Linked DNA regions of Homo sapiens: regions 2, 3 and 4 are each linked to region 1. Evidence: promoter capture Hi-C in 16 types of primary human blood cells and fetal thymus (Javierre and others, 2016). All regions are on one chromosome and are shown on one strand. The core of a region is centred on a gene start or on the middle of the fragment in contact, and the rest is flanking DNA. Distances in the headings are between cores, read along the strand shown. Region 1 holds the start of GNA14 (G protein subunit alpha 14). Region 2 has its middle 4.8 kb from the start of PSAT1. Region 3 has its middle 25 kb from the start of CEP78. Region 4 has its middle 41 kb from the start of CEP78.

Region 1 (6,907 bases), core at 2,125-4,624:
TTCTACTAAATTCAACCATCTCCTTTATTTTCTCCATCTCTTTCTGATGAGAAAGTGTCACACCAACATCTTGCAATTATTAGCCTTAACCAAACAACAGCTTTTATCTTTCCCTAGTAGACACTGACCTGTGCTTTTATTAAGCAGAAACAGGATACTGCACTTCAGAAACATCCTCACATCATTTTTTTGCAAAAGCATGCTTCATTGTGAAAGAGATGGTGTCTTTGGGGGTCATCCCATACTCCACAAAAGGATTCCAAACTCCCATTTGCAAAGTGAGGTTTTTAACTGAGGCACCTGAGCAGTGGATGCTCTAATCTACCCACTAGAGAGATGGGTGAATTTTTCACTCGAATTGCATGACTTCAGACAAAATGGTGCACATCCTCCCCTAATTCCTGTCACTTCTGAGTCATTGGCTCTTCCTTGAGAAGAAATGGAGCTATGCCCCAGGACTTTACAGATTGAAATAAATCAGAGGTTTTGAAGTCCATCCTTGGAGTTCTGAACGGCTCTGTGTGGTTTAGAAACTATTTTTCACAGGAAAGTTTTCACTAAGGGGATATGCTAGTCACAACTCCGCAAGATGAAAATGGGAGTTTCCAGAGGTCAGACAGTGCCTCAAGGTGGTAGGAGGAGGGTTGGAGCAATGGCCTGGGAAGATAAAGAAGACCCTCGGGTCACCCTGATTAATGTGACTTTCAGAGCAAACAATTTACCTACAAACATTTCTCCCCTAGTTTGTGGGTAAATGCGAGAATTTTACATCAAACAGGCTTATTACCAATACAGTACAGCTCAGCTGACTACACAATTTTTCATACAAAGAGCCAGCATTTGTCAAGCTCCTGGTATATTCTGGACACTGTACTTCATACATTGACACAAATCAAAGCATTGCAAAATGAAATAGGGTTCAGCCTGCCCTTATAAAGAAAAAAGTTACATACGCAACTAAACCCCTCTGGTTTGTGGGGTTCAGGGCAAAAGTACAAAGCCCCGCACCCATAGTTATTTTCTAGTGTTAATCAAGCTAGCAAATTCTCACGTATTCCTCCTCCCTTGACAAAGGTAGCTTTATAACAGCCTAGAAGGCCAGGGACAATTTAGAATTTTCAGACTTTTCAAAGTTATGGGTCAGACACAGAAATAGCAGACCTGGCCAATGAACAGAGCCCCTTCCCTTCCCCACCCAAGCTCCCTCTCTCCTAGGGGGGCCTCTTGGGCACCCACGGGGACTCCCTCCACTCCTACCCAGCCCACATTTCCAAGCACTTTTACGCCCCAGCAAACAGCTGCCCCTTTGTGAGCTCTCCAGGGATCAGGTCTGCCTTCTTTTCTAGGGCTCAGGCCTTAGAAGCTGGTATGGGTCCCTTTGGGCTGGGTATTCATTCCATCCAGGTCTTGGGAGGGAGGGGGCAGCATGGTCTCTGGGTAGCAAGCCCCTTTGGACCTACAGACTTCCAGCTCTGTGGGGAGGGGCACACCCCCCCCCAACCCCCAGAAGGCCAGACTGGGCCCTTTAAACCCAGGGGATAAGGATAAGGGGGTTCTTCCGCCCAGGTCTGAAGGCCATACTGGCTGAGAGCCTTCTCTATATTACACTAACTAGATCAACTTTTTCTTTCCTTGAAGCTTTCTGGGAGGGTGATTCCTATACAAGGAATAAAGATGAATAAATAGATGGTATAAGAGAAGATTCCTGTTCAAAAGGGGTGAAAGAAAAAAAGTTGAAATCTTTGTGGCTATCTAGAAAAAAATTGACAGCTGATATCATGGTCTGAAAGGTAGAAAAGGTAAAATATTCCTCAAACAGCAAATGTGTTGACAGCGTTCTAGAAAGTCTGAGATGGGATCCTTGCCTCATGGCATAACTTGGGCAAACCTTAAACTGTGTTCTTTCTGTGTTTGAAAGTGGATGTCCTACCCAGACCTTTGCAGAGACACCAAAAGAGCTGGATGAAGACCTGCCAGAGGCACCAGGGCAGCCAAGCTGAATCCTAGGACGTGGACACACTGAGTCAAGCTGGGCAAGGGAGGTTTGGGTCCGCTGCAAACACAAAGGCCTGAGGGACCCCCATGGGAGGCAGGCATAGGAGCTCACGGTCAGAGGAGCAGCAACGGCATGGGCTTCACCCCCACAGCTGACCTAGCATCGGCTTTGCCTTTTCTCAATCAGGGCAAGTTGGTCAGTTCTCCAGGCCTCCATGTTTTAATTCTCTAGAATAGCGATATCACCTGCCCGCATCACCAGGTGGTGATGCCCTTAAGAACTTAGCACGATCTGGCACATGGTAAATTCTCAAGATGCTTCATCTAGAACTGAAAGCGTACGGGTCAGAGCTAGCGCTGAACCCAAGATGTGGGTCACCACAGACCCCAAGCTGGGTGTGCTGCGGGCGGAGGAGTGGACGGGGTTTTGAGGAGAGGGGCACACCGGAACACATAAGGTACAGCGGTCAAGAGGTTAAGTGTTACAGGTCCCTATCCTGTTTTGGGGCAGGGGAAGGTGTTGCTTTTGCAAGTCGCCCAGCCAGAGATGGAAAGAACAGGCACCTAAGGCCCCAAGTTGCTGGCATCCGTGAGCTCCGAGGGGGAGAAGGACGAAGCCGCCCTGCACCCCGCTGGGCTCCAGGGCCGCGCGGGTGCCAGTGGAGAGGCCGGGAGGGCTCGGAAGAAAAACGCCCGGCTCACTGGAGTCGGAGACGCAGCCACTCACCCAGCAGCAGCAGCTTAAGCTCACGGCGCGCGTCCTTCTTGTCCCGACGAAGCTGTCGCTCGATCTCCGCGCTGATGCGCTGCGACTCCTTCTCCTCCGCGGACAGGCAGCAGCAGCCGGCCATGGTGCGCTCAGCTCAGTACCCGACGGGGCGACGCGGCCCCGGGCACCCGAATCCTCGGCCCGGCCGCTCACCCGGCCAGCATGCGACGGGCACAGGGGTGTGGAAAGAAAAGACGGGGGCCGACTTGAGCTTTGGAGTAAGACGCCTGGACCTCCGAGGCTCAATCCCCCTTCGAAAGTCGGCTCTGAGGCGGGGTGAATGCCGAGCGCTGGGAACGCTCGAGTGCACCCCGGATCCGGGCTCAGCCCGCCCCACTCTCGCTCTGGGGAGGAGGAGGGCGAGTCGAGAAGTTGGGAGCGTTGCTGGCCCCGGGAAGATGCGCGCGCCCCTTGGCACAGGAGCCGGACAGCAGTCGGGGGCGCAGACGAGTTGGAACGTCGGTGCTCGGGGGAGAGTAGGATCTCCTGGGCCTAGGGGTGTCCCCAGGCGGGAGGTAGGCGCGGAGTGGGTTGGAGGCAAAGGACCTGGCTGGCCTTTGCCTGGAAAGTTCTGAAAACCTCAGCAGTGACCGCAGACTAAGACTGAGTGGAAAGGTTCCCGCTAGCGTTTGTGGCTCTAAGTGGCAGGAGGAGGCGGAGCATCTTGAACCTGCAGCCCTGGCGTCTGCTGGACTTGCCCTTCTGGGCACCCCAAGCCGAAGGCGCCTGGAAGTGAAAGGGGACGAGCAGGGGGCGCGGAGCTGGGGGTGGGAGCTGGCACCTCTAGGAGCAGCTCCCACACTTGCCTCCCTGGCTGGGGCGTCCCGGCCAAGGTTTGCTGTAATCTGCGCGTCTGGCCGCCAGGCACCGGGTTCCGACAGGTGAGTGAGTTTCGCCAACTCACTCGCTCGGAGAAGGCGGCAGCAGGCTGGAAGAGGAGCGGCGCCAAGCGTCTGTTGCGGGACACAAAGCCCCGGACCTGAAGTGGAAGCTTGCCCACCAGCTTCACCACCACGCACACCCGGATTTCCTAGACTGGCTCCTTCCGCTTCCCGGACGCCCCGGCCCAGCTCGGGCTTGGCCAAAGCCCTTGGTCAGCTCGGCAATTTGCCTGTAAAGTGTGGCTGGGCCTGAGCCTGCTGGCTCTGAGCTCGGAGAAGGAGCCGCCGCTGGGTTCAGTTATAAGAGAACTGCAAGAGCCCAGGGTAAATATCCTCTCGGTCTCCGGACGAGGGGGCTGGGGAGAAAGGGAACGGCTGATTGCTTTGCATTTTATGATGGGAAAGACACCTGCTTTGTAGAAAGGGCTGATACGTTCCTAGTAGCACCTGGCAAGTTTCCTGCCCAGCCCTGAAGCCTAACAGCCGCCTTGCGATTGTGTCCGCACTGACACCTTGGCCTGTATCCTGGACCGTCGGGGTCAAGTTTGAGCAGCATTAATAAAAACTTTAAAAGCACCTCTTAGTACTTAAGTGACACGATAAAATGCATATTACAACATCTGACTTTTGTCTGTGTAGATTTTGATGCAGAAAAGGGAAGGTGGGGAGAGGGGATCCTATTGGCCACAGCAATGAACGTTCTTTCCTTCTCAAGTCAGTATAGGCCATATGCTAATGGGGCGTTAGGCAATTAGCTAGCGCTTCCTCTACTAAGAGCAGGCATAAGTGCCTTTCATTTGAGTAGCATATATTTTATAAATTCAAACTGAGGAGCACATTGAGTGGAATGGTACGTGTCATTATATAAAGAAGTTGGTATCGCGATGCTATCTGGCTGCATGTTCTTATTATTTTACAGTTTAAGAAATGTAGAGGAATCAGACATTAAAAATGTGCATACATGCTTTAATGTGTGACTATTTTAGTTTTCTTGCAGGCATAAATTGACAGTAACAGTGACCCCTACAGGAAAACTCCTGGACATTTCAGATTTGATCTTTGGCCATTTAATAGCCTGTTTCTTCTCTCTTAGCTCTTACGGATTCATTTACAATTTGAGAATAAGATCTCTTGGCTTCTCAAAGTCATGGTTGCATCATAATTGTTATCATTTAAAAATTATAAAAAATTTTTAAATGATTAAAACTAGGGCAAATTTGAACTCTTACGTTAACGGGAATTACTGATACTGACCTATTAGGTTTAAAGTTGGCAAGATTTCAAAAACAGTTATGAAACATATTGATTAGGGCAAATCTGTACAACTTTCCTGGGCTAGTCAGCTTGGCAGTATATATCTGAAGCCTTAAACATGTCCGTCCCCTTCGGCCAAACCAGTAATTTCTCCCTTAAGAAATAACTAGAAAGAAGCCTCATGACTGATGCAAAGGTTTTATTGCCAATACAACAACAAAAACTCACAACCTAAATACCTAACAACAGGGAAGAGATCACTTAAATCATGGTTTATCCATACAATGAGATGTTTTGGAGCCATTAAATATGTGGATATGCGAGTAGTAAACATGTGAATAAATTTGGAGAAAATCCTCAAAATATATTGAATGAAAAAGGCAAGATCCAAAAATATAAAGAGTATGATAAGATTTTAGTATAAGAATACGCATACACATTTTTAAGAGACTGAAGGGACACACATCAAAAAGGTAGCTTGCTGTGAGTCATGGCTGTTTGGTTGATTTTCATTGTTCATTAGAAAATTTGGGCTGGGTGCAGTGGCTCACGTCTGTAATCCCAGCACTTTGGGAGGCCGAGGCGGGCAGATCACCTGAGGTTGGGAGTTCGAGACCAGCCAGCCTGACCAACATGGAGAAACCCCATCTCTACTAAAAATACAAAATTAGTTGGGTGTGGTGGCACATGCCTGTAATCCCAGCTACTCGGGAGGCTGAGGCAGGAGAATTGCTTGAATCCGGAAGGCAGAGGTTGTGGTGAGCCAAGATCACACCATTGCACTCCAGCCTGGGCAACAAGAGCCAAACTCCGTCTCAAAAAAAAAAAAAAAGAAAGAAAAAATTTGGGGCAGCTTGCATAAAATTATTTAGGCTCCACTTTCCTTAACTATAAGATGAGAGGGATAAGCCAGAATAAGCTCAAAAGGATCACCCAACTCTAACATGCATTATTTCTTTGATGACATTCACACTTATCCAAAATAAATTTATTTAAAAATAATCAAAAACCTAAAGTTGTTATTGAGCATCAGCCACTGGTAAGAAACAGAAAACTGGGATATCACAAGTCAATCATTTTTATACTTCTATGTTTTATTCATCTCTGTTTTCCTTATCTGTAGAATCTGGAAGGTAAAATGATAATAATTTTAAGATATTAATTCATTGGAAACATCTTTCCAGGAAGGGGTAGTTTTGAGAAGAGTTCTCAATAAAAGAGAATATTTATTTTCCTAAGTTATTTCAAAAAAGCTGCAATTTTATTTTATTCATCTTGAAGACGAGAGCGCAGACTGGACCTGAGTTTCAGATATCCACCAAGTGTGGGGCTACAGGGGTGAGCTAATTGTCTGATATCCCTCTGAATGTCCACTAGGTCCATACCAGCCCCTGTACCAGGCAGTGAGGATTCAGGTAATAAGACAATTCCAGACTTTCGGTAGAGCTATAGTCTAGTAGAAAGAAGTAAAACTGAGACCCTGAAATCTGAACCTACCCCTTCCTGCTTCCTTCCAGAGAACAGTGAGAGCACAGAGTCACCTGAGGGCGCTCCCCAGGCCTACAGATATGCACAGCAGCCTCATCTTCCATCACTCTCCTGGAACTCTAGACAAATGGAATTTTCTGTTCTCCCTACCTCCTGCCTCCATGCCTCGGTGCATGCTGTTCCATCTTCCAGGAATACCATCTCTTACCCTAGGCAAAATTAGGTAATTTCTTTTTCAATTACATCTCTTCTGAGGAAGCAACTCCAGCCCTTGTCAGTTACATCCATCTTTCCCTACTGCTGGAACACTGTCAACATCTCACTCTATTACACCCGTCTGTTTCTTCTAATCTATGAGTTACTCACAGGTAAAGAGTTTTTCTTACTTATCCTGGTATTCCTAAATTAGCAAGTTTCAGTTGACTAACCTTAAATACTGAAACCAAGAAGAATTAGTCTGAGATGCAAGAAAAGAAGGTTCTTGTGGTGGAAGACAGTGAAAACCAATAAGCAAGTACAA
Region 2 (6,907 bases), core at 1,990-4,489, 640 kb after region 1:
CTTTGGAATGGAAATGCAGTGATTTGATGTTCTCTCCGTGGTTCAAAGCCCAGAACAGACTCCTGGTGATCCTGGACAAATCCTGGATCTGAGTTTTGGCTTTTCTTTCTATGAAATGGAAAAATACGTTACCAATAGGTTCCAGGACGTCCATGTATGAAGCCACAGGTGGAAGAACTGGCCCAGCCTCACAGCATCACTTTACCTCCTTGCACCATTTTTCTCATCAGAAAGTGAAGGAGTTGGCCTAAACTGAGATTTGTGAGTCAAATTGGATAATTCAATCACAAACACCCCAAAATGTATGTAAGACACACTGGAAATACTTCATATTTTCATACATGAAAATGACCCTGTGTTGTCTGGAAGAGAGTGGGTGCTCTTGACATTATTTGTCATAAGCACACTTGGTGATTTTCTTTGATCTCTAACCTTACAGTTTAGAATGCTTACAGAGTTCCTTTTGGCTCCTTAATTCCACATGATTAGTATACCTGATTAGGATTCATTAATCATCTTTGGCTGTCCAAGGAGGTTTATGCATGTTTAACGACTTGAGACACTGGGGCCAGCCTGGGGACACCAAGTCATTCTATGTTACCTAAGGGTTCCATTTTGGCGATGAAAGTTAAAGTATGCTGGGATATACAGAATCAGCATAAATGTTATTACTTTAAAAATTCTTTCATCTCACTCCTCAGTTCTGCAAACCTCCACCCAAATCCTTGGGCAGTCATCTGGAAATGGCTTTGTACTGATTTACAGGGCAATGTAATTTCTCCTTCCCACTGCCTCAGGACAATGCTGGGAGAGACTGGTTCTCAGAATGCATGGGTAGATGATTCTAAATGACATTCCAAGATTCCTTCCAGTTCTGTGAGTTTGAGAAACAAACATATGCTACCCTGTGGGCCTGGCTCTCTAACTAACTATTCTCCCTCCACAAAATACATCCCTTCAACAACCTGCAACTTGCCATTGTCTGCCATGAACTTTGAGTGGTTGTGCAAATTCAGATAAGTGTGACTGCATCTAGTGCAAGCTGAATGGAGGTGAATTATTTGGTGTATTCGTCCACTCTCGCACTGCTGAGAACTACCTGAGACTGGGTAATTTATAAAGAAAAGAGTTTTAGTTGATGCAGAGTTCCATGGGCTGTACAGGAGGCATGGCTGGGAGGCCTCAGGAAACTTATGATCATGGCAGAAGGCAAGGGGAAAACAAGCACGTCTTAATATGGCAAAGTGGTGGTGGGTGGTAGGGGGAAGTGCTGTACACTTTTAAACCATCAGATCTCATGAGAACTTACTCACTAGCACGAGAACAGCATGGGGGAAATCTGCCCCCATGATCCAATCACCTCCCACCAGGCCCCTCGCCCAATATTGGGAATTACAAATCAGCATGAGATTTAAGTGGGGACATAGAGCCAAACCATATCATTTGGTAAGCTTCCACATGCAGCTTCACTCAGCATTGAAGAAACTGAGCTAGAATCCTAATTGCATGGCGACATGTTAGGACTCGATGAGGCCTTCAGCCTTGGCAGAAATGACTTGTGGGAGGATGGGCCTGAAGAACCACAGGCTCTCAAAGGGTGCAGAGTGGCGTCCTAGGATCTTCAGGGGTTTTTGGTGGTCTTATGCCTATCCTCACCTCACTCTTTTAGAATTATCAACCCAGCAACAGACTGTTAGCATTTTCATTAATTTCCTTCTTCCTGCCCTGTACATTCACTCAAGAAATATTTATCAAGCACCTAATATGCTTGATGCTGGGGATACAGCAGTGAAAAAGGCAGGTGCAGTCTCAGCTTCTCTGGGAAGTTATGGTCTAGTGTGGAAATGGACAACAAACAAGTACTATTGCAGAGGCTGGTGAGTTTCCAGAGAAACAAGCAAGGGCTGAGCCAAGAGATGACCAAGAACCAGGCTAAGTATGGTCTTGTGGGCCCATTAGGAGTCTGATTGTTGTTCTAAATGTAACGGGAAGCTGTTAGAGGACTTTGAGCAGAGGAGCTACATGATCTACCTTACGTATGTTTTCAAAAGTTCACTGTGGTTGCAGTTTGGAGATTGGATTCTAAGTCAGTGATGTCAATGCAAGGAGTCCAGGCCCAGGAGTCTAGAAGAGATCATGGGAGCTTGGACGAGGCAGGCAGCATGGAGATAGAAGTCGATAGAGCACAGAAAAATTGTGAAGCAGAACAGATTGAATTTGAGAATGAGGAAAGATGAAACCTCCTTTGAAACTCTGCTGAAAGGGGTGCAGGATAATTAATAATAATAAGCAGTTTTCTGTCTCTAGGGGTGAAGACATCAACTTTGGAACAGACCTCTCCTTGTTTTAGCAGAATTATCACAATAGGTATAGTATATGTAACCTCATTCTTTCATTCAACAAATCTTCACTGTATTCAGTACAGTAACATGCTGTATAGGCTTAGGCTGTATCATATAGCCTAGGTGTGTGCAGGCTGTGCCATCTAGGTTTGTGTAAGCACACTCTATGATGTTCACACAACGATGAAATCGCCCAAGGATGCATTTCTCAAAACATATCCCTGTTGTTAAGCGATGCGTGACGGTACTTGTTGAATGAATGAATCTGAACACATCTGTTGATGTTCTGGTTTGGGACTATAATTTGTTGTCTAAGTTTGAGTAGAATTTGTGACTCCAAGGAGGTGGGCTTAAAAAAATTGTTTTTGGAGATAGTTAATTGTTGTGCTGATGAGAAGCAGCTTTTTCTTTCATTTTGATATTTCATATGAGGCGTATTCTTACGTCATTAAAAAGTCTTCACACACACCCTGCTTGGATATGCCTCAGATGCACACACCACAACATGCTGAGCCAGTCTTCCCTCCCCTCCAGCTCCCTCCCCTCAAGCCAGCTGCTCCCCTTGCCCCTGCCCAGTTCGTTTTGATGGTTACAGAAATGCCTCTCACCCCCAGCAGCTTTGAATTCTTGTTATTTTTAATTAATCTTTGCTGCCTTTCTATACAAGACATAAGCCAAACAATACAATTAAATGACAGTCCCTGCTTATCTCTGAGGCAGTGTGCGTGGTTCTTTGGAGCTGGCACTCAGTTTGAAGCATGAGAAAAAGAAGAGGAAAAAGCAAGACTTTTCACATCCTGAACTGGCTTCTGCTCCCGTCATCCCTGAATTTTCTCTCTCTGTGCTTTGCCTTAGTATTTCCTCTGGCCTCATAAAGAAAAGGAAAGAACAAAACAACCCACAGATTATTAACTCTACAAAAGTCGTTCTCAAACAGCCTGGATGGTTGTCTGAAATAGGCATGTGTTGACTTTGCACAGGTGGTGAAACGAGTGGTCTGTGGCTAGTTTTCAGGCTTCCATGTGGAACCCTTCTGTGAGGCAGCCCTCATGAAGAGTGCTGATCCCAAAAATGCACACGCGTATGAGCAGAGCCAGCGGGGCTGGGAGTGGAAAATACCAGTGTGTAAACACGTTAGAGATGGTGCCAGGAGTTGTGCCCCTTTCTCTAAAAAAAAAAAAAAAAAAAAGTTAAATAAATTCTGATGCTTTTTCCACTTTGAAATCTTTTAAGGATGTAAGAGGTAGAAGCAGTGTGCATCCCCTGTGTAATTCTGCCCACTAGTCCACAGAGAGCGTGCCTCTTAAATAACCTCTTTAGGGATTTCACTTGTGCGGAGCTTAAAGATCTTTTAAACATCTATACTAATCTTTAAAAATAAAGCAAAATGAGGCCAGGTGCAATGGCTCATGCCTGTAATCCCAGGACTTTGTTGGACCAAGGTGGGAGGATCACTTGAGGGCAGGAATTCGAGACCATCCTGGGCAACATAGCGAGACCCCTATCTCTACAAAAAAAAAATGAAGCACAATGGGTATACCTTGAAGACATTATGCTAAGTGAAATAAACCAGTCACACAAAAGGGCAAATTCTTATGATTCCACTTACAGGTGGTACTTAGAGTGGTCAAATTCATACAGACAGGAAGTAGAAGGGTAGTTGCTGGAGCTGGGGAGTGGCGGGAGTTATAGTTCAATGTGTACAGAGTTTCAGTGTGGGAAGATGAAAAGGTTCTGGTGGTGGATGGTGGTGACGATTGCACAAAAATATGACTGTACTTACTGCCACTTAACTGTACACTTGAAAATGGTAAATTTTATGTTATGCATATTTTGTCAATAAAAAAATGAAGCAAAGTAGGCAAGGAAATAAACTGAGGTAAAGAGAGTAGGATGGATATCTTTTCCTATCTGTTGGGGTCAGAATAAAGAAAGTAATAGGACTTTGACTTTTGGTTTCTTTTTGCTACATAAACTATGATTACTGCCTCTCTCCCACTTTTTAAAATTGTTGTTTGTTTTTGAGACAGGGTCTCACTCTGTCACCCAGGCTGGAGTCCAGTGGCGCAATCTTGGCTTATTGCAACCTCCGCCTCCCGGGATCAATCATTCTGTATGACTCCGCATACAAGAGGTACTTAGAGTGGTCGGATTCATAGAGACAGGAAGTAGAATGGTGGTTGCTGGAGCTGGGGGCAGCAATTCTCCTCCCTCAGCCTCCTGAGTAGCTGGGACTACGGGTGCGGGACACCATGCAAGGCTAATTTTTAATTTTTTTTTTTTTTTTTTTTAGTAGAGACGGGGTTTCACCATGTTGGCCAGACTGGTCTCAAACTTCGGACCTCAAGTGATCCGCCTGCCTAGGCTTCCCAAAGTGCTGGGATTATAGGCGTCAGCCACTGGGCCCAGCTTCCCTTCCTCACGTTCTCTGGGAATAATGATAAGGGAAAAGGATCTTTAGCTCCAACTACAAAAAGGGCAGCAGAAATAATCTTGTCTCATTCCAAATAGATTTTCTCCCCTGCTCATGTTGCCTACTTCTCTTCTCACTGCTCTCTAAACAGGATGGCTGGGTCTGATTGGCAATCGCAGCAGAGCCCAGCATCTTTCACATATAGAAGTACTCAATGAATAATACTTGTGAAAATTGAATTTCTGCCTTTTTACGAAATATGTATTTCATAAAGAAGCTTCTTTGTACTTGCTAAATGAGAATCTACTAAGAGGGAAGGATCCCTCCCACATGCAGGGGTTCCTCTGGACTGTCTTTTTTTTTTTTTTTTTTTTTGAGATGGAGTCTCACTCTGTCTCCCAGGCTAGAGTGCAGTGGCGCGATCTTGGCTCACTGCAAGCTCCGCCTCCCGGGTTCATGCCATTCTCCTGCCTCAGCCTCCCAAGTAGCTGGGACTACAGGCGCCCGCCACCATGCCCAGCTAATTTTTTGTATTTTTAGTAGAGACAGGGTTTCACCGTGTTAGCCAGGATGGTCTCGATCTCCTGACCTCATGATCTGCCTGCTTCCGCCTCCCAAAGTGCTAGGATTACAGGCGTGAGCCACCGTGCCCGGCCTGGACTGTCTTTATAGATCAGTGCAAAATAGGCAAGAAGGACAAAATAATATTTTGAGATTAAATTATGTTTCCTCCTTTGCTGCTGCTTTATTCAAGCACTTAGCTGAGGGTGTTCCTTGTTGAACTGGAGGAAATTTGGGGGCAGAACACTATAAACAGTCCTTCAGAGAGCTTGTTACCTGTAGGCTCAATAAGGCCTCAGATAAGCTGGAGTTTGCCCCTCAAAATATTGATCTGTACAGTGTTTTGCTGAAATTTACATTTGTAGATGTTTAAAAATGAGATGTCACATAAAAATCTGGGTTCCTGGGTTTTCTTTCAAAACGTGAAGACAGCTCAAGCAACTTCATTTGCCTGCTTGGCAACAACCAGCTGGATCTGAACTTCAGCTGTTGCATTTAGGATGGCATAATAATCAGGATAATGTGAGCTGCTGTAACAAATCGCCTCTCATATTTCAGTGACATAGCACAAAAGAAGCTGATTTCTCACTTACATATGACAAGTCTGGTGCAGGTGATTCAGGGACCTGGGGCTCCCTCTTTGCTGTGTCTCCACTGTCCTTAGGGGCCAGGGAGTTTTTTGTTTTCAGCCTGTGGAATGGGAAAAAGGAAGTGGAGAAGCACACCCATTTCTCAACCACCCTGGCCTGAAAGTGACACACATCCACTTGGCCCACATTCCACTGGGGGGACCCAGTCATGTGGCTCACCTAGATGCAAAGGGAGCTGGGAAACATGAAGCCGGTTTGAGCAGCCACTTCCTGCCATCAACCCTATCCCATGGATGGGGGAATCATAAATGTGCAGTGGCCGCGTGCACCTGTGCCACAAATGGACAGGTGAACTCAATTTGCCACAGTTCCCACTACTTGTTTCATATCCCTGAGTGGCCCCTGGAGGCATTTGAGTTTGTGGCTCTGGTTTAAGGTGTTTGTGGGCACAGTGTGAGGAAGAAACATGGAAAAGACAGATTTTCTCTAGACTGAAAAGGAGATTGCCCAGGGGCGGGAGGAAGACAAACAGAGGTCAGTGGGTCCTGAGGCTGACTGTATGTGTGACTTGTGTCCCTGAAATACCATCTTGGAAACTGCAGGACCCCCGGGAGGAATGGCTGCAGGGGATGTCTTAGCAGATGAGACAATAGCCACCGCCACCCCACCCCAAATTCCTGTGCCCCTAGTGGGATACAGAAGTAGTAGGTTGCTCATCAACCCAAGCAGCCACATCAGCTTGGGCAGTGGAAACAACTCAGCCATATCTTTTGGGAACAGAGGACCAAATGGATGTGCTGTCCCTTCTCCCAACCCACTACATGGGACTGTGTATAGCCCTGGTGTTAGGAACTAACTCCAGGAAGGATGAAGGCTGACTCCCTTAGTCTCCAGTAGATAAGCTGCTAGGGGCAGCTACTAATATATAATAACTGAGTTATTTACGTAAAATAATGGATATGTGATGCTTCTTGCATGCCTGAGTTTCTGGGCTGAGATTT
Region 3 (6,907 bases), core at 2,720-5,219, 560 kb after region 1:
ATATGAGATATTTTAAAAACCACATCTCCATCTGTGATCTGGGGATAAGAGAATAAGCTAATAAGCATTGTGCCTGAGTTACAATTTCTAATACTGTGAAAAGAAGAGGCCACATCAATGGGAAAAGGAAAACAGTCTCGTGGGAGCAACTCTGAGCCTCGTTAATGTACCTTATCATTGGTTCCAAAATAGAACCAGCGGGAATCGTACCAGCCCACTATCTGGAAGCAAATAATTAATCACTGGGAAAGGTAATTAAAATGTGGCAACAAATGAGCATAGTAAGCCATAATATCAGATAAAAAGTATACTGGAAACACAGGAAATAAAGTATAGAATTAAAAAAAAGAAGCTATAACAATGTAAAATTTCCTAGTTATCTCTGCTAGTTTTCTCCTCCCAATTCCACAATCACCTCTAAATTAAAAATGAAAATGACATGCATCACTTATCAAAATAATATGAAACAAAAGCCTGTTCATGTTTGTAAACACATTATAAAAACCTAGGATTATACCAGTAACATTGAAATACAGTTGACAAAATATTAAAATAATATGTAACATGTACTGCTTTATTAATAAATAACAAGATCTAGCAGCTGGGCTAACTACCATAATTTTGTTGTAAATTATAATACAAGCTATCTGCAAAACCAGTATGTGATGTGAGCATGTGAGCCTTCATTCTGAGTCTCCTGACACGTTTTCTCACCATCAATCTGAGGGCTAACACATCTGTTTCTGATATGTGGACTCCTGAGAAGAGAAAGCATTGAGAAGGGTCCTGACCATTTCTGTCCTCCCCTCCAAGGTCTCTGAAACTATGATGGAGCAAGTCATTTTGATTATGAAGTTGTTTATGGGTGCAACCAATCATAAAAGTTCCTTGAGACTTCTCATAAAATAAGCCCCAAGACTCTTCCAATTCCTTTCTCACAGTTCAGTGCAACCTAAAAGTTGCCACTAGATTTAAAAAACCCTTGTAACTATGACTTGTGATTACTAGAGAGTCAGACTGCCACAGTGATTTCACTCGCTGTAAATCCTCCCACATGGAAAGCTAACTAGTCTCTGATGCCAGCCTTGAGAGAGTTGGGGATTGGCGAAGCAGTGAGGCTATCCTCATGGTGATAAGGAAACCAACTTATCCCCATCCATCATTATCCTTCATCATGAGTGGCCAGATGTAGATGTCCATCCAGTATGAACTAGTAATTAGAAGACTTGTTCCCTCTCATGCTGACACACACTTATGATTACAGTTGATTCTCAGTGGGTTCTACGATCCATTCTGCATGGTCTAATTAACCAAGAATACAGTAAAAGCATGGAGAACAAGTCAATGGCAGGCGCCTAGAGCAGTAGCTCTCAAACTGCCGCATGTCGCAATCACCTAAGGAGCTTTTGAAAAACACTGAGTCTAGAACATGCCCCCATACCAAATAAATCTGAATATTTGGGGCGGGACCCAGGGATCAGTACATTATTATTACAATTATGAAAAAAAGGAAGACAATTAAGTAAAACGACTATCTCATTACCTCTTTGGGTGGTAGGACCACGCATTACTTTTTTCCACTTTCTAATTTTCTTTGCAATTTGGGCTTTTTGTGATAAATGTGTATGGCTTTTATTATACGTAAGTCATCAATCAACTTTTGCTTTAACAAACACATTGTATTTAATTTTTTGAGGGTGTAAGCAAAATAGTAACCATATCAACCAGTTTTCTCAGTACTTTTATGCCTCTGTGGATGAGCCCAAGAAGCTCATGGAAGAAGTGGAAAAGCTGATCCATACCTTCAAAGATTTAGTAATGACGACATCAATGAGAAATCAAATGAGGATCTGGTTTCCATAGGGCCACCAATGAATAATATCTCAAGAGTAAATGAATATTGCGGGTGGCTAGTAAATGGCAGTTGCAATGATATCACCTGCAAATCCTTCAGGTTTATACCTGATATGAAATTATGATTATGTGACAAGAGCAAATCTTTCTTTTTTTTAATTTTATTATTATTATACTTTAAGTTTTAGGGTACATGTGCACAACGTGCAGGTTTGTTACATATGTATACATGTGCCATGTTGGTGTGCTGCACCCATTAACTCGTCATTTAGCATTAGGTATATCTCCTAATGCTATCTGTCCCTCCTCCCCCTACCCCACAACAGTCCCCGGTGTGTGATGTTCCCCTTCCTGGGTCCATGTGTTCTCATTGTTCAATTCCCACCTATGAGTGAGAACAAGAGCAAATCTTTCTTATGCAATTGGCTGTTCCTTGAAGATTTTGACTGAGGAATCAAGATACAATATATATTGCACTTCAAAGTGAGTTGCTAAAACAAAATACAAATTTTCAAAATAAGTATCTGAACACCAATGACAGAACTCATCCCTCACACACATTAAAAATACAAAGAGGATGAAGTACATGGAGGTTGAAGGTGAAACTGGGAGGAGGATTTTGGAGATAGATGTTGGAGTGCTAGATACCTCAACAAGGGTGAGGAATAGAAGATGTTTCCCACTTAACGGTTTTAAGGAGCCCACATAGAGAATTCAAGATGTGCTACATTCAGTTTAAGGCAGCAGTGTCCAATCTTTTGGCTTCCCTGGACCAAAAGAAAGAATTGAAAGACAATTGAAAGAATTGTCTTGGGCCATACATAAAAATATACTAACAGCAGCTGATTAGCTTTAAAAAAAATTTGCAAGCAAATGTCATAATGTTTTAAAAAGTTTATGAATTTGTGTTGAGCTGCATTCAAAGCTATCCTGGGCTGCATGCAGCCCATGGGCCACAGGTTGGACAAGCTTGATTTAGGGGACTATACTTGTGTCTGATTCCCACTAAGAAATGTAAACACAGTGAGATAGAAGTATTTAGAAGCTGATCTAGGAGAGGTGGCTGTGGCCAAAGAAAGTGTATTTCCTGAGGAAGAGGTTTGTACCACTCTTGAGAGGCAGGCAGTCTGGGAGCATCAAGAATCTTTCTGAGGGCTATCTGAAGACTAAGAGAACATCAGAAGAAGGAAGCTAGCTGTGGGTCACTGGATGGTGAGAAGTCGCAAGAGGAGCTGCCAGTGACCAGCTAGAAGAGACATCATTTCCCACATCAAAGAAACGGAAAGAGAAGCATCCCCCAACAATGGCAGCTTTCATGATAACCCACAAAAAATGCACATAAGAGAAAAAAACAGCTTCACGCTCCAGCAAGCAGAAGCCATCCACTGACAACATCAATCAAATAAGAACTTTCTCGCCCTTTTCACTTCCTTTCCCACCTTGCAGTTCCAGCCTGAGGAAGCCAAGACAGACTTTTACAGGTGGCCTAATCATAGCCTTGATGGGCAGATGGAGGGAAAGTGCTATGGGTAGGATGGAGAAGTCGACCTTGTCCTGAAACAGTACCACAGTGGGAAAGGCAGGATGATTGACCTTTGAACGAAGATTAAAATTTTGATCATCGCGTGGGACTATAGGAGTTTTCAATCAGGAGAGAGGAAGAACGAAACAGTTAAAGGGGCACTGGGAAATAAGAAATTGTTTTACAGTTATATCACATGAGTTGTCTTTATTCCACATAGTGGCTACACAAAAGAGGGCTTTTCAAATGCCCGTATCCTTTGACTCAGTCATTTCACTGCAGAGAAAGTGTCCTGCTGTAGCTTTGTAGTCGAAAGCAGCTTTTTTGCTTGTTTGTTTATTTGTTTTCAGGATAGATGTTCATCTTTGCTCTTGGAATGTTACTCTGAGGTTTTCTTGGTTAGGCAAATCTAAAGAAGGAATGAAGACTCCATTGTCTGGTAATTAAGATATACTAAGACTTCCATCTCCAAAGGAAAATGGAGCAATACTCTCCCCATGCCAGCCTACCTTTATGAATTAAAGAGGTCCATGAGGCTAGGTTGAGAGCCAGTAGGAGGCTAGCCAATAGAGTCATTGAAATAAATTAACCATGGTACTTCTGGAGAAGTGGTTATCCCTATAAACCCAAAGCGCTAAAGCCTGGGACTCCGGCCTATTCCAGCCCATGAGAGTATAATACAGTGGGGTTGCCTTCTCTTGCAAGAGTGCCGAGGTTACGGAAGGGCTCTGGTCCAGCCCAACAGGGAGCTCCAGCAGCTTCAGAGACACCTTCCCTGTGTAGCAGTTTTTACCTTCATGAGGCCCAGACTTTCAGGTGGGAGAAATTTAATGGAGGGCCTTGGGACTTCTACCTTAGTGACTCAACCAAGTCCCAGTGCCATCTTACCCGGCACTTATTTCAGCTCCAAGGGACAGTAATACCACAGCCTTACTGTGGTTCCATCCCCCGACCTGGGGCCAGGGTGCCTTAGATGCTTTACAGGTGGCAGGATGAGCACCTTAAAGGGACTTCAGAGGGGTATCATGGGTGCCTTATCTCTGAACACAACCTATGCCTTCTAATGCACTTTCTCAGCACTACAGCTGCTCCATGAGTGTGGGACTTCACTGCAACTTCTACACCTCCCACCCAAAGCTAGTGTGTAGTGGGCAATGGCCCTGCCACAGGGTCAGCACACCAAGGCCCTCAGAGTCCCACGCTGGGACTCCTTCTTCTCAAGGCATCTGCAAGACTAGTTCTCACAGAGATAAGGTGACAACCTCTGCTTAATAACCATCTTTAAGTGTATGAGCCTGCTATTTTATTTTAACTTCAGTATTACTTCCCTGCCTTACACAGGTGTAAAATTTCAATCCCCTGGCTACCCTTTTATGGCTTGATGGGCATTTAAGATGACCTCTCTGTGGTTCAGTTTGGCCCAGAATTGTTTACTTGCATCTTTGATGAAGAGGAATTTTGTTTACAGCCTCTAGGCTTCATTCAGGCAGACCCTATTTCCAAACAATCCTTTTACAGAGGTAACTGGGAGGCACTAAAGAAAAAGCATGTCACTTAAGTAGGGAACTCATACTGTTGCAGGGGATTATGGATTATTTCTTGTGGAAAGTAAAAAAAAAAAAAAAAAAAAAAAAAAAAAAAATGCTCTCCTTGTGCTGAGAAGTGTTGGGAAGGACAAAGAGTAGGCCAAGTGGGAGGGCTCAAAATGAGCCTGTTCTCATCTCACTTCTGTGGAAGAGCCAAGCTTTTCAGTAAACCACATGAGATTACTAAGGCTAGTGCTTAACTTGGGGTTCATGAGGTTTGTAGGCTCTAGCCAATTCTGAATTTCAGTTCTTTCACTGAAGTTGTGTGAAAGTATTGAGTTTATATGAGTGTTTTCTGGGAAAAGACTTGATTCTCAAGGAGATTCATGATCTCACAGCTTCAGACTCTTGCTATTTGAAAGTGTGATCTGAGAATTATCTGTACGGAAAACACCGTATTTTTTAAAATGTAGGTACCAGGCCCACTCATTCAGAACTTTTTTTGATAAATAACAAATAATTTTTTTAGTATCAGTAGTTGCAAATTATTGCAAGGATCATACTTATACTAAAAAGTGTATTCATTGTTTATCTGCAATTCAAATTTAACTAGCTGTCCTGTATTTTGATTTACTAAATCTGGTAACCCTAACTGATAATGGGATGGAAGAAACTCCTTTTTTTAAAAAGAACCTCAATGCAAGGGCTGTTTTTTCATAAATAAAATTAATACTATACCACTGATCATTGGACAAGTGAGATTATATCACTTGTTCACTAAGGCCTGGAATATACTTCTAGTCCCAGCCTAGAGAGGATTTTTACAGTCATTGGAAGCAACCATGTGCTTTATATCATAGAGTTTTGCAATGTACAGTGACCAGGGGAATAAGTTTTCGTTTGTGCACTCCAACCTTGGAATTTCTGACATTACTGATGTCTCTTTGTGGTCTTAAACCAAGAAGTCTGGTTAAAAAGTTGCTAAGGATGGGTCAAGAAGGCAGCGTTTTCCTTTCTGTTTTAGAGCAGACGCTAATAACCACCCTTTTGGTAAAGGAACATTGCCACCTAGTAACAGAATCAAGTATTTTCCTCTGGGCTCCAGACAAAGGATTGACTCCAACTGCACATTTTCAAGTGCACACGTTTGTGAATTTGGGTTTTGGTTGCCTTCCACTTAGCATTCAGCATTTGTAAGCTTTCCACAGAATGCAGGGAGAAAAAGCCATTTGTCAGTAGAGCCTCAGTTTGTAAGAGGCAAGTGGGAAGGCTTTTAAAAAGGCCAGCAATATCAGTAAGAATGGATTCTCCTTAGTATATACTGGCAAATAGGAGAATAAAACAAGCAAAACTGAGTGGATTTTGTGGAAAGAAACTTCTTTCTGCCAAAAACTGTGTGGATGGAATTGCTATTTATGTTGCAATTTGTAAAATGACTGAGTTTTTGATGCATGCACAAAGCTGAAAAAAATTACTAGTAAATAGTACATAGAATCTCATGTATAAAAATAACCTTACTCAGAAGCATTAAATTTGGCCCCCACTTGAGATCTGAGGATCAACTAAGTGCTCCCTAAGTCCAGCTAATTCTGCAGTCTTAAAACCCATACCATGGATTCATGGTCTCACGGTCTCACGTGTGTTTCTAATATAAGGGATAAATCTTGCCATCACAAAAAAGAAACTATTTAGTTAGAAATTCCCAAGTGTTAGAAGTAGGGCTTTTTTTTTTGTCTTCTTTTGCTTAGTAAGGGGGCTATCACTATTCAAAAAAATTCAACTTACAAATTTAATAGTCACTCTTGGCTTAATGCCACCTGTTTTAATAAATAGGCCCTTGTGAGCTGTGGCAACAAGGATTGTGTTGCTGTTATAAATATTTACTGTCCCTTACTTGATGCTGAAAAATCCAGAGTCCAGAGTAGCGTAGTCTTACAGTTGGTTACTAAGTATGGAAGTGTTTTGCAAGTTTATACAACCTCCATCAATGAGGTTATTTTACATA
Region 4 (6,907 bases), core at 1,946-4,445, 550 kb after region 1:
AAGAAGTGATTCCAGAATGAATGAATGAATGAATGAATGAATGAATGAATGAATATAAGAGTATTCACCCTAAATATAAACAGAAAAGAAAACCTAGCACCTACCATGTCATTGAGCAAGGGTCAACAAACAATGATCAGGGGGCCAAATCTAGCTTACCACTTGCTTTTGTGAATAAAGTTTTATTTACAACAGTACCTATCTGTTTGTGTGTTATCTATGGCTGCTTGTATGTTACAATGGTAGAGTTGAATCATTGTGACAAAAACCTATGGCCCACAAAGCCAAAAATATTTATAGCAACCCTTTACTAATCCTTTACAATAAATGCTTGTAGACTCCTGACATAGAATATTGAAATCTGAGCAGTTTACATCCATATTTCTTATCATTTCTCCTTTATTTTCCTATTACTTTTGCCTTTTTTTCTTTTCTTTTTATTCATCTATTACTGTGTGCCCAAGGCTTAGGTATAGCTTAAGGGACAAGAAGAAATTTCACCCTAAGATCCAAAAAAAAAAAAAGAGTGATACCACTCTTATTCTAACAGATACAGCAACCACAATAGGGAAGAAGTGAACAGAGAAGGAAAAATCAGGGATGAAATGGAATTAATCAAATATGGTGTTGCTATTCAACAATTAGCTTGACTGCCCTTTTTGCAACAGGGCCTGACAGTGTCATATTTATACCACATTTGGTTGCCACTTGGCTAAGGAGCCTCAGCGGGGTACCAATTAGAGTTCTTAGTGGCAAACAATAGAAACACATTTTGGGCAATTGAGTCAGAAACTAATGTATTAAATGATATTTGGAAGCTTTCTTCATATCCAGGAAAGCTGAAGAAGCAGATCTAGAGGCTACGTAGCAAGAAACATCCAAAGTCCACAGAAGTGATCCCACATAGTCCACACTGCCCCCACTACTGGATAAGAAACTTAGCCAGTGGTAGTCTCATCACCCCTTCTGGACCTTTGACCTGGCTAAAGAAAACATCACTACTGCCTCTGGAAGGTGGAGGGGGCTCTCCCAGGATCAATCCCGATAATTGACTATGCACAGTCGCTGATTTCCTGACTCTTTGTGTTGCTAGTTACTGAGTCAAAGTCTGACTCCGAGCACTTGATTGCTGAGCTGTAGGTCAATGTTTGTGTTCTAGTTGTAAGGGAACCAGGGAAGGTGAGAATCTGGCTTCCAGAGTTGGAAGTATCTGTTCCCAACCCAGAAGATCCTGAACTTTTGAATTTTCCTTACTTTCTTAATGTTTTCATGTCCAGATTTTAGCAAGAGCTTTGAAAGGTGATTCAATGCTTAATTTTTTTATTCATCCTTAGCAATATTTACTAAGGGTGGGCTGCATGAAAGCAATAACCTATGCTTTGCTTGTGGCCACATATCTGGTCTGTGTCTGAGCATGGGCTCACCTCATCAACTACCACATATTAATGGAACACTTGTTGGCTGTGTTAAATTTGCCATTTCTCAACTAACTTTAAAAAGCTTCACTATTATATGAAGAAGAGAATAAGGATGTGAGATCAAGAAAAGGGGCTTTTTATTGTGTTTTTAATTTTTTTTTATTTGCTAAACAGTTGGAGGAAATACGAGCATGTTTTCCCACTCGTAGGAAAGACTCTGCATAGAGAGAAAGGTTGATGCTACATGGATAGAGGAGGAGCTATGGCTGGAGGCAAAGTATTCATGATATTATGATGGTACTATAGCCCAGGAACAAGGAATACCCATGTCATAGCTTGATATTCATCACTCTTCCCTACAGAATTCCCAATGGAGGTGTATTAGTCTGTTTTCACACTACCGATAAAAGCATACCTGAGACTGGGTAATTTATAAACAAAAAGAGGTTTAATGGACTCACAGCTCTATGCGGCTGGGGAGGCCTCTCAATCATGGCAGAAGGCAAAAGGTACATCTTACAGGGCAGAAGGCAAGAGAGAATAAGAACCAAGCAAAAGGGGTTTCCTCTTATAAAACCATCAGATCTCGTGAGACTTACTACCACAAGAACAGTATGGGGGAAACCACAACCATGATTCAATTATCTCCCACCCAGTCCCTCCCAGGACACATGGGAATTATGGGAGGTACAATTCAATATGAGATTTGGGATATCATAACAAGAGGGAACCAAATATGAAGAATAACCAGCAAAAGGGAAACCTATTATTCCTTCTTAAATCATTACACAGAATAGACAATGCAAGGCTTTCCCAAAACCTATGTTCAAAATCATGGCTAAGACCTGGAAACCTAAGTGAGACTTCCTGCTTCCTCACATGTAAGCAACACACTCAAGTGTATTTGCAAAGGAAGTATGGCCCATACCCCGGTTCACTTACATACATATTCTCATGGCATAGAAAAAAGCGAAGAGCAGTGTTTCACAATTGGCACTAATGACATTTTGGAGCAGATAATTCTTTGTTGGGGTAGGTGGGGAAGTACTGACCTGTTCTGTGTAGGATTTTCAGCAGCATACCTAGCTTCTACCCACTAAATGACAGTAGCACACCCACCTCTCCCAGTTGTGATAACCTAAAATATCTCTAGACGTTGACAAATGTCCCCTGGGGGCCAAAATCCCCCCGCGAAACTAGAGGAGAACAGAATGGTTGGCGGGTCTCTGGGAAGTAGATTCCACTTTGTTCTGAGGCAGGAAAGCAAGAGAATAGTTCCTTTGTGGGTGCATAGTTTTAGAATGCAGTACTTCTACCCACAAGTAAAAAGACCCTTGATGATGGCCGGGCACAGTGGCTCATGCTTATAATCCCAGCACTTTGGGAGGGCCATGGCGGGCAGATGACTTGAGGTCAGGAGTTCGAGACCAGCCTTGCCAATATGGCGAAACCCTGTGTCTACTAAAAATATAAAAATTAGCTGGCATGATGGTGCACGCCTATAATCCCAGCTACTTGGGAGGCTGAGGCAGGAGAATCGGGAGAATTGTTTGAACCTGGGAGGTGGAGGTTGCAGTGAGCCAAGATTGCAGCACTGCACTCCAGCCTCCAGCCTGGGTGACAGAGCAAGACTCCATCTCAAAAACAAAACAAAACAAAACAAAACAAAACAAAACAAAACAAAACACCACTTGATGAAAGCCCAGGGGGTCTTACCATGTTGACTAAAATCTCTATTCTTGGCTAGGCACGGTGGCTCATGCCTATAGTCCTAGCTACCCAGTAGGCTGAGGTGGGAGGATCCCTTGAGCCTAGGAGGTTGAGCCTGCAGTGAGCTCTTATGGTGTCACTGCACTCCAGCCTGGGTGACAGAGCAAGACCCTGTCTCTCTCTCTCTCTCTAAAAAAAATAAAAATAAAAAAATTTGAAGAAGAAGACCATGAAAAAACCCCTCCCTTTATCCTTCTGAGGGAACAGGTGGGCAGAGATAGCTAAAGAGTCCCCTCCACGTTCATCTTCATTTCCTATTGCCTCTCATCCCCCAGGGATGGCAAACAGATTAAGGTCCATGGACAGTGGGATATCCTCCACTCATACAGGGATAGGGTGAGGGTTCCTGGGACACTAAAATTAAGAAAGTCCCAGGCGGCTGGGCGTGGTGGCTCATGCCTGTAATCCCAGCACTTTGAGAAACCGAGGTGGGTGGATCACGAGGTCAGGAGTTTAAGACCAGCCTGGCCAACATGGTGAAACCCCATCTCTACTAAAAAAGTACAAAAATTAGCTGGGCGTGGTGCCGCATGCCTGTAATCCCAGCTACTTGGGAGTTTGAGGTAGGAGAATCTCTTGAACCCAGGAGACGGAGGTTGCAGTGAGCCAAGACCGCGTCACTGTACTCCAGCCTGGAGACAGAGCGAGACTCCATCTCAAAAAAAAAAAAAAAAAAAAAAAGGAAAAAGTCCCAGGCAAACAGGATCAGTTGGTCAGAGCCCTACAGTATTGTAAAGTAGCTTGGTTCCACCAGACTTGGAGAAATTTCCCCAATATTATACCTGGCTTCTACCCACTAGATGACATTATATTATGTCGTCTCTTATCCCTTAGAACCCTCCTAGAATCTGTTTAACTATTGCCCCCAGAAGTCCCTGAAGTGAGTCACAACAGTATATTAAGTTAACTTAAAGGTTGCAGATTATTTAAGGGAAAAAATTCACTCCTATTCTATTTTCTATTTCCTGTGCACAATCATGATGTTCAGACTGGCTCACTGGAGTTTATTCCACAAGCCTAAGTAATGCAATAAAGAATGCCCCAAACTTGAAACAATATGAACATTCTCCCATTTAATTCACTAGAGAGAAATTAAAGCTGAGAAACAGAATCTATCTCCTTTGGTTGAAATTAAAATCTAAAAGAAATTATGGTCTCTTATTCTCACCATCCTCACTTCTTATTTTCTTTGCTCTCAGCTGGAGTTGCTAAACTCAGATGGAGTTTCAATTCCTTTTTCAGAAGCTGTGGCCTGGAACATCTTCCGCTGGGATGGGTGGAGCTCCCTCAAACACCTCTAAAACAGGACTAATCCAAACCCATTTGTCTCACCACTCTGGTTTTCTGACACTCATAAGGATCAGCAGAACATGCAAGAACATCAGTGGGTTAGCCTATGCCCACAAAATAAAGCAAATAAGGAGTCATGACAGCAGTTTGCTTCCAAGCAAAGTTATTCCTCTAGATTTCAGCAGATGGTATAATCGAGACCGCCTTGCTGTTGGCAGTCAAAGAACATAGCAGACACTCAATGTTTTCTTGGGAAAGGTGGGTAGACAAAGAAAACAAGAGAGAGAAAATAGAAGACATGTTTCAGATTCTGCCTGTCTTGACTGTATGACGAACACCTGTTTCATGAGATGATCACATTCCATTTTGGGGTTTGAAGCAAACCTGCATCCTGGAGGCACAGTGTTTGGGCACAAGCTTTTAAATTTCCTCTTCAGCTCTTGAATTTTTAAGAATGACACTGAGTTTTTTCCTCTACATCAACCTGACTAATATATGGGTTTCCAATTCTCTTTACATATTCATTATTTAAAACAAGATCACCCTTATGCCAACCCCTAGCTCCAGCCCACCACAATTGATCCCACAGACTGGACTCACATCTAAGATTTGAGCTTATGAAATGAACAAGTTAGAACCGGCACGAGACCATATGCTGGTGGAGACCATGATGGGGAGGGGCCAGGTGGTAAATTTCAGGACCTAGGGACAAGCCACTTGAATCCAAAGCTGAATTCCACAGTGATTTTCTTTTCCTTGACTTCTCTTCAAAACAGCAAAAAGAGAAACTAGATTTGGAACTAACATTCTAGTGTACTGAGAATTTAAATTCCAAATATTTTACACATTAGTGTTCTCAAGTTCTTAGGAATGAAATGACTTTTACAGATTAAAATACTGGCCCACCATCCTGCCTGAGAAATACAATAAAGGGGAAAAAAAGCTCTGGTGAAAAATTCTTTAAAAATTACTCCTCTTGCCAGACCTAAAACATTTATATATGGAAGTTCCGTTTTGAGATGAGCATTTTCTGGCTCCAAAGTCTCTCTTTTCCTAAAAACTAATATTAATTTGAGTTACAGTATCAGCTGTCACAGGTGCACCAAGGACCTCATTCTTCCCTATGTGATACTTTGCCCCCAATACTCATTCTTATGTAGATATCCACATGACCCTCACTGGTAGTCAATATGTATGGGCTTTGGGAAGGAGGGATTTTGTATGCTGTAATGATGGCATTACTGCCAAGAATCAAAGGGTCCTTTCTGGATGCTCACTTCTCCCCCTTGTGGGACTTCAGACCAAATATATGCAAGAAGCAATAACCAAATAGAAAACAAAATAATTTTCTATTATTGTTTTGTTGTCCAGGCCTGGAGTGCTTGACGTCAATATAAATAGAAGCAAGAATCATATACAACCATAAACCTATACTTGTGTATTGTGCAGGCCTGAAGATATGCCACCATACTTCAAAAACCCTCAGGGATTTCTGGAAGATCCAAGAGGGAAAAGATTGATGACAAAACCCATGAGAGCTGAGCAACTCTCAACTTCCTATGAGAAAAAAAGTGAATACTACAACAAGAGCCTTGGAATATTCCCAAACTCAGAAATAGTTGTAGTTAAGAGAAAGAGTTACTCATGAGAAAACTGATTGCATGAAAGAGGCTCTAAACTCAACAAATACAACTAATCTTCATGGACGTAGAGTCAATACGGAGAATAGATGAAAAATATAGACAGTAACTTTAGATGAACTTGGCAAGACATGCTATCAAGGAAAAGAAGGCTATTGTGAAAAATAAGCACTCAGGAATTTTGTAAATTAAAGACATAATTGCTGAAACACAAAATTATACTCGATGAAGGGCTGAGTAGCAGGAAGGACACTGCTGAAGACAGAATTAGTAAAGTGGAATGTCAATCTACCTTATTTGTGCAGAATGTGTAAAAGATAAAAAATGAAAGATGTTAGAGAAAAGATAAGAGACTCAGAGGATAGATCCCTGGTGCTCTAATGTCTCAGCTTTAGGAGTAGAATGAAAGAAAGAAAGAATCAAAGAATAGAAAAATCTTCCTGCCTTGGGAAAAGCCTTGAACATTCAGATTAGAAGGTTTGTCTACTAAATGGTAAGCCAGAAAAATAATTAAAAATACCTATAAAAATAGTGAAAACACCTACAAATGCCTAGTAAAATTTTAAGTACAAAATGAATATCCTATGTTACTCAGAGAGAATAAAAAAGTACAAAGGAGATAGAATCAAATTGATCTGTAACTCATTTAAAGTACAGTATGCAAGAGGGAGAAGGAATATGTCCTCAAATTTCTGTGGGAATTCTGGTCCACAGTTCTTCTTTAATCTAAAGCAGTATTTACGGATGATTGAGGAAGAAACATTTTCCATAAAATTTATCATCCGTAAT

What was found. Contacts are between HindIII fragments. The CHiCAGO score rates a contact against its expected background, and 5 or more counts as called.
Region 2: a fragment that was not itself captured here is called in contact with the fragment with the promoter of GNA14 in region 1 in 1 of 17 cell types (M2 macrophages); the score reaches 5.2 in M2 macrophages.
Region 3: a fragment that was not itself captured here is called in contact with the fragment with the promoter of GNA14 in region 1 in 1 of 17 cell types (erythroblasts); the score reaches 5.4 in erythroblasts.
Region 4: a fragment that was not itself captured here is called in contact with the fragment with the promoter of GNA14 in region 1 in 2 of 17 cell types (erythroblasts and monocytes); the score reaches 5.2 in erythroblasts.

Annotation. Positions count from the first base shown.
Region 1 is chr9:77,644,948-77,651,854 of GRCh38, forward strand. It overlaps GNA14 (G protein subunit alpha 14), which reads right to left and starts at 3,375. Exons shown (of 7, transcript NM_004297.4): 1 at 2,723-3,375. The coding sequence starts at 2,846. The HindIII fragment of the contact is 2,117 bases long and covers 1,637-3,753 here.
Region 2 is chr9:78,288,861-78,295,767 of GRCh38, forward strand. No RefSeq gene overlaps it. Among named protein-coding and RNA genes, the nearest start is that of PSAT1, 4.8 kb to the right of the region's middle. The HindIII fragment of the contact is 3,581 bases long and covers 1,450-5,030 here.
Region 3 is chr9:78,207,940-78,214,846 of GRCh38, forward strand. No RefSeq gene overlaps it. Among named protein-coding and RNA genes, the nearest start is that of CEP78, 25 kb to the right of the region's middle. RefSeq lists an enhancer at 3,058-3,377. The HindIII fragment of the contact is 2,297 bases long and covers 2,822-5,118 here.
Region 4 is chr9:78,192,004-78,198,910 of GRCh38, forward strand. No RefSeq gene overlaps it. Among named protein-coding and RNA genes, the nearest start is that of CEP78, 41 kb to the right of the region's middle. The HindIII fragment of the contact is 3,395 bases long and covers 1,499-4,893 here.